Linked DNA regions of Homo sapiens: region 1 is linked to region 2. Evidence: promoter capture Hi-C in 16 types of primary human blood cells and fetal thymus (Javierre and others, 2016). All regions are on one chromosome and are shown on one strand. The core of a region is centred on a gene start or on the middle of the fragment in contact, and the rest is flanking DNA. Distances in the headings are between cores, read along the strand shown. Region 1 holds the start of ALDH1L2 (aldehyde dehydrogenase 1 family member L2). Region 2 holds the start of HCFC2 (host cell factor C2).

Evidence for each region. The method cuts DNA at HindIII sites, captures the fragments that hold promoters and counts their contacts. A CHiCAGO score of 5 or more calls a contact.
Region 1: the fragment with the promoter of ALDH1L2 here is called in contact with the fragment with the promoter of HCFC2 in region 2 in 8 of 17 cell types (monocytes, total B cells, activated CD4 T cells and 5 more); the score reaches 12.7 in monocytes.

What each region holds. Positions count from the first base shown.
Region 1 is chr12:105,083,021-105,086,442 of GRCh38, forward strand. It overlaps ALDH1L2 (aldehyde dehydrogenase 1 family member L2), which reads right to left and starts at 1,438. Exons shown (of 23, transcript NM_001034173.4): 1 at 1,369-1,438. The coding sequence starts at 1,416. RefSeq lists enhancers at 281-1,081, 576-815 and a silencer at 1,316-1,745. The HindIII fragment of the contact is 2,214 bases long and covers 414-2,627 here.
Region 2 is chr12:104,062,562-104,065,956 of GRCh38, forward strand. HCFC2 (host cell factor C2) reads left to right here and starts at 1,970. Exons shown (of 15, transcript NM_013320.3): 1 at 1,970-2,162. The coding sequence starts at 2,000. It also overlaps a transcript of GLT8D2 not described here. RefSeq lists an enhancer at 4-173, a cis regulatory region at 89 and silencers at 1,497-1,656, 1,666-1,835, 1,817-1,986, 2,207-2,346. The HindIII fragment of the contact is 6,452 bases long and covers 1,410-3,395 here.

The sequences.
Region 1 (3,422 bases), core at 188-2,687, 1.0 Mb after region 2:
TCTTCCCCACATCCATAGTTTTGTTTATGCCATTTGCCACCTGAGATGTTTACCTTTTATTACTGAAATCTTATGCAAACCGCACTATCAAAATCTTTTCATTCTGCAAGACTTCCTTCTGGTCACCAAAAAAGACAAGTCAGTGAAAGGTGTTGACAGAGGAGGCCAACAAAACAGGCTCAGGCATTGGGCACAGCCCGTTGCTTTCTGTGCTATCCATCTGGGATCCCATGTGCCACGTGGTGGGGGAAGCTAATGAGGGGTCCAGGAGAGCAGGCCAAAGTCCTAGCAGAGCAGGTCTTCCCCACCCCCACCCCTCGTTTTATAAAAGGTGACTATACCTCAAAGTAACTAGAACTGGTTGCAAAGAGTAAAACGAATTCTTATTATTTGGGGTTGTCTGGGATACAGAAAGCTTTTCCTTTGATGCAAGTTTGGGCCAGTTTTTGGTGCTACTCAAGACTTCTCTCTGCCTCCAAGTTTTTTACATCTGAATATATACATATGTACATATGGCTTTGGCATGGCCGAGAAAAAGAATCGATAAGCAAATTCTTTTATGTACTTCCTATAAAAGATACGATACATAAGACAGTTTTTATTTTTTTTTTTTCTCTCTCTCTCTTCCCTAAACAGTCCCGAGGCCCCCTGGGTGCTGAAGGCAGCACCGCAGTGCAACGTGTCCTCTCTCGGTTCCATTTCTGGAGGAGCTGATGCAATTCCAAGGCGCGGGGCTGGGCCAGAGCTCGGTTCTTGTGCTACAGTAGAATAGTGTTCCAGCGTGGCTGCCTCTGCAGCGCCTGGCAATTCTAGAAATTTTGCCATCTGCAGCTCAGCTCAGGAATACTGAGCTTGCAGCCATCAGCTTTGAGTGCCATTATCTGAACCGGCCCTGCGTGCCAGTCTCGAGCGCTTACACCTCCCAGGCCGCCAACGAGGACCCTATTGACTTGATACTCCCCTCCTCCAGGAGACAGTCTCGGTTCCATATGGCTCCAGCTCTTGACCAGGGATCTCATGATTGAAGTGAAAAAGGAAAGGAAGCAGACTCTGTCCTCCTTACCAAGTGACTGTTCCCACCTTGCCATCCCAGCCAGACTTGACACGTCCAAAAACTGCATCCTCAGCCCCCTCCCGGCAGAAGACAATGGCCTGCGTGCCAGTTCCCATCCGGGACCCTCCCCAAGCCCTCCTCTGAGGTCTCTCTGTTTTTGTTTGTTTGTTTGTTTGTTTTAAACGCTGTCTTGGTGTTTAGCAAAGTCTAAGCATCGCTGCTCATCCCCAGCCCCACCGCCCCGGCCCTCCCGCCCCGGAGTCTGGAAACCAGGACAGGGTGACAGCCGGGACGCTCGCCCGGGCCGGACTCACCCGGCCAGTGGAGAAGCGCCGGAGCGCCTGGCTGCCCCGCCGCAGCATGCTGGAGAGGAGCGCTAGCACTGGCGACGCGGCAGCGCGGGAGGCAGGCGGGCGGCGCAGCCTGGGCGCGGCCTGGGCGCGGCCTGCAGTCTGGATGCCCCGGACTGCCTGGCTCGCGGCTCGCCGCTCTCGGCCTCTGCTAGTCCGCACCCCTCCCAAAGCCCACAGCCCGCGGCCCGCCCCACCCTACCAGCTGCAAGGCCCCGCCCCCTAGCTGTCAAGACCCCGCCCCCAGCTGGAAGGCCCCGCCCCGCCAGCTGGCTGCGTTCGGACAGCCAACCTGGTGCGACCCGGCGGAGCGCGTGGGCTTCCTGGAGCCTGTGGGCCCTGACCCTGGTGCCAAGAGCGCACCCAGTCCCAGGGACCGCGCCTCTCCGCTGCCTGGACTTTCCGCCAATTCCAGCCAAGGTCCAGGTGCTTTCTAACTGTGGGACCCTCTACCAGTTACTCAGCCCCGCAGCAGTGTATACGGATCTACCTTATTAGTGGTCAATCTGACATCCCAAGTGCTGTCCATAGCACAGCCCGTAAAAGGCACGCCTGTAGACAGATAGGTAGTGGGGGCGCCTTCGCTGTGGAGGGATCCTGATGCCTACCTCGTAGGACGGTAGGCCGGGCGCGGTGGCTCCCGCCTGTAATCCCAGCACTTTGGGAGGCCGAGGAGGGAAGATGGCCTGAGCTCAGGAGTTCGAGACCAGCCTGGCCACCATGGTGAAACCCCGTCTCTACTAAAAATAAAAAATAATAAAATAATAAAATAATTAGCCGGGCGTGATGTCGCATGCCTGCAGTCCCAGCTACTCGGGAGGCTGAAGCACGAGGATCACTTGAGCCGGGGAGGCGGAGGTTGCAGTGGAGCTGAGATCATGCCACTGCACTTCAGCCTGGACAACAGAGCGAGACTCTGTCTTAAAAATAAATAAATAAATTGGTGCAAAAGTAATTGTGGTTTTTGCCACTGAAAATAATGGCAAACCCGCAATTACTTTTGCATCAACCTAATAGATACGTGCCCTTCTCCCTCACCTCTCTGGAAAAAACGCTCAGACCTGCTTTAGCTGGACGTTTATCTCAAGCCAGACTTCTTAGCCCAGCATTCAGGGCCGTCTGCAATTTGCCATTTTCTCTTATTTCTCACTGCTCTTTTGCATATGTAATTCTGCTTGACTGCAGTTCTTGCCTATTCCTTCTTGGACAATGTTTCCCAGAAAAGCTTGTCATCTGTCACTTGTAATTATCTTGGCACGACCGTTTCTTTTCTGAAAGGTACCGCTTACATGCTGCCTCCTGGAGGCGCTTTTTTCTGATTCTTTTCTCTCTTAGTCTCCTTATTCCCCATAAATAATTGTTCACTCCTCTTAACAGGAAATAATCTTTGTCTATGCATCTGTTATGGCTGTCTCAATCTGCTACTGGTATTTGTATACCTATTAACGTCTCTGTTGGAAGCTCCTTGCAAGCTAAGTCCATGTCTGATTAATCAGGATTTACAGTATCTAGCACTAACCAGAGCTTTAAAAAAATAATAATAAAATAAAAAATAACTTGTTAAAAAAAAACTTGTTGAAACGGATGAATGTGTTTAAGAGAGTAAGGAGACAAAAAAGAACCATCATTAAAACTTGGAGAATTGCGGTTGGGCGCGGTGGCTCACGCCTGTAATCCCAGCACTTTGGGAGGCCGAGGTGGGCGGATCACGAGGTCAGGAGATCGAGACCATCCTAGCTAACACGGTGAAACCCTGTCTCTACTAAAAATACAAAAAATTAGCCGGGCGTGTGGCGGGCGCCTGTAGTCCCAGCTACTTGGGAGGCTGAGGCAGGAGAATGGCGTCAACCCAGGAGGCAGAGCTTTCAGTGAGCCGAGATCGCGCCCCTGCACTCCAGCCTGGGCGACAGAGGGAGACTCTGTTTCAAAAAAAAAAAAACTTGGAGAATTGCAACAAACATCCAAGGTTTTGCTTTGAGCCCTACATCTTGCCAATTCAACCCACTTTCCTGACTGCA
Region 2 (3,395 bases), core at 720-3,219:
AGTACCTCTTGAGAATCTGAGGTAGGGATTTAAATTGCTTTCAATTTTTTCTTCCACTGGACTTGTATCTCTTATTTATCTCTCTTTAATAAAAATAGAGATGGGATCTCACCATCTTGACCGAGCTGGTCTCAAACTCCTGGGATCAGTGGATCCTTCTGTCTCAGCCTCCAAAAGTGCTGGGATTACAGGTGTGAGTCACCATGCCCAGTCCTTTTTCAATTAAAATTTTAAAAAATAACTTGTATTGTGGATATTTAAGATATACAATATGAAGTTGATATCATATAGACCAGGGGTCCCCAGTCCCCAGCAACCAGTCCTCGGCCTGTTCGGAACCCCCATGACCTTCCTGAGCTCTGCCTCCTGTCAGATCAACCGCGCATTAGATTCTCATAGGAGCTCGAACCCTACTGTGAACTGCCCATAGGAGGGATCTAAATTGTGTACTCCCTATGAGAATCTTATGCCTGATGATCTGAGGTGGAACAGTTTCATGCCAAAACCATAGCCCCCATCCCCTTGCCAAGTCCATACCACCCACTCCCCTGCCAAGTCCGTGGAAAAATTGTCTTCCATGAAACCGGTCCCTAGTGCCAAAAAGGTTGGGGACAGCTGAAACAGGCAGTCACAAGGTTACTATAGTGAAGCATATTAACATATCCATCATCTCATATAGTTACCACCAACCCTTTTTGTGTCTCTGTGGCAAGAGTGGCTAAAATCTACTCATTTGGCATGAATCCCATATGCAGTGCAGTTTTATTCCTAATGGACTTGTGTGATTATGTGTAGGACCAAATCACAGGGCAGCTAGGCCTTATTAAGTGTTGCATTGGCTGGGTGCGGTGGCTCATGCCTGTAGTTCCAGCACTTTGGGAGGCCAAGGCAGGAGGATCACTGGAGCCCAGGAGCTCGAGCTTGCAGTGAGCTCTGATCGCGCCACTGCATTCCGGCAACAGAGCCAGACCCTATCTAAAATAAATAAATAAAAATAAAGAGTTGCGTATGACTGCTACCAGAGGCAGTATGGTATAATGGTTGGATATGACTGCTATCAGAGGCAGTATGGTATATGATATAAGGGCTTGGGGGTTCTGGAATCAGAAGCCCTGTGTTGGAATCCTGGCCCCAGTCTTTTTTTTCAACACCTCTCCTTTGTGTCCATCAGAAAATTACCTTACTGCACTGTGCCTCATTTCCCCGTCCATGAAAGGGAGATAACAGGAGCCACCACACTGGATTGCTGGATGGATTACATGAGTTAATACACATGAGGCACTTAGGGCATGCCAGGCTGTGGACAGCCCTCACTTGTTAGCTAGCAATGAAACAGAAACCTAGAAAACCATCTCTCCTCTGCTTAAGCCAAACAAACCAAAAATACCTCTTGTGGCTCACGGTTCCCAAGCTTCCTGGCATGGCTCCGCACAAAGCTGCCTTCGGTTCGCCCGGCAGGCTTTGTAGCGACCTTCCCTGCCCGGGTCCCAGTCACGGTCGGGAGCAGCCGCCGTGGCCCGGGCTCGCGAGGCAGGCTCCCGCCCGCACCCTCCCGTGCGAGGTCCCCGCCCTGCGCTCCCAGCTCTTCGAACCTCTACCCGAGCTTCTCTCACGTTGCTTGTGAGACTGCCTCGCCCACACATCCTAGATGCTCAATTAAAGTGGACGTAAAGGAAGATGCTGTGGCTTCTTCCCAAAATACCGAACGGGAGGCTCTGGGTGGGGATGGGAGACGTGGTCAGTGGGAAGCGTCCTTCCACCCTAAGGTGCGTTGCTCCGGGTGGCCGCTGGCCAAGTCGCCTGGGGTGGGGGCGGGGCTCCCCTGTCAGGACCCCCCTTCCCCAGCGTCTCTCCACTGCCCGCGGGCCTCCAGCCTGGCCGCCGGCGCCCGCGGCCACGTGACCCCAGCACAGCTGGAGGCGGGTCCCCGCCCTCCCCAGGGAGCAGCCGGTTGAGGCGGGAGCGGTGCATTGTGGGCAGAGGGGCGGGGGTTGGGAAGATGGCGGCTCCCAGCCTCCTCAACTGGAGGCGAGTTTCTTCCTTCACGGGGCCGGTCCCCCGCGCCCGGCACGGACACCGAGCGGTGGCCATCCGGGAGCTGATGATCATCTTTGGAGGGGGAAATGAGGGCATCGCGGATGAGCTGCACGTCTACAACACGGGTAGGCGCGGCGGCGGCTCGTCGGCCCCGCCTGCTGGAGCTGCGGAGGGGGAGGGGAGGCGAGGCGGCGGCCGCGGCCCTGACAGCTGTCACCGCCCGGTCACTGCTTCCTTGGGCGGGCGGCGGGGAGCGCGGCTCAGCCGGGCAGCCCGGGTCCGGCAGCTCTGTCCCGGACCGCAGCTCAGGATCTCCGGGGCCCTTGGGGCGCAACGGACCCCGAGCGGGGCGCACCGGCCTTCAGGCGGGGGATCCCGGACGCCCCCACCCCAGCCCGACAGGCGGACGCAGGCGACAGAAGACCATGTCCAACCGCCTGGGCCACTCCCCGAAATCTCGCCTCTGTCAAAAAACAAAACCCACTCCAAACCAAAGTTCCTTAGGGCCTTTCCCGTCTTTGCCTGCCTTCCTTCCTTAGGAGGAAGACCATCTAGGGGGTGAGGAGGGAAAACGAGAGGCCTTCTGGCACTCTCGCCTCAAATACAACCCGGTGTTTGGCAGGTAACGGTCAAGAGCCCCTCCGTGAGCCGCGCTCTAAAGCGGCGGGGACGTGGTGAGGCGGCCTTGTGTCTGCATACTCGGTGTGGACGCCCTTCTGGACTGGCCCTCGGAAAGAGGACTGTCATAACTTGAGCACCACTGCAGATCACAAGTGCCCCTGGGCAGGGAGCCCCTATCTTTGAGGACCTCTGTGGAATAGAAAGGAAACTGGATTTAATTTTTTTTTCCCCTTGTAAATGCTCAGGCTGTCACAAGAAATCTGTTTGGTGTAAAGACAGTGATGGAATTTTGGGTCTACTTCATGACCGATAACTTTTCTTTGATCAAACAACTTAATCACAGGAATAATTTGAAGGTTAACAAAATAGTGGAGTCTGAGAAGTTTTATTTTTTTCACCCTCTCCTCCTCCCAGCGCCCCAGCATATGAAGGTAAAAAGTTACTGACACTTTGGTCTTAGTGTAAAATCCCTGGCTTTGGAACAAATTAGACCTGATTTGAATCTTGCTCTGCCGGTTGCCCAGGATCAGCGCTAAAGTTACCAAACCTTTTTAAGCCTCACAATTTTCAGTTGTAAAATAGAGATTTTTATACTCACCCAGCAGGGCGTTTTGTAAGAATTAAATGATACAGATCAGGGTTTTTCAACAGCAGCACTCTCGACCTTTTGGGCCAGGTAATTCTTTGTTGAGGTTGGGGGAAGCTGCCCTGTATTGCCCTGTACATTGTAAGATGTT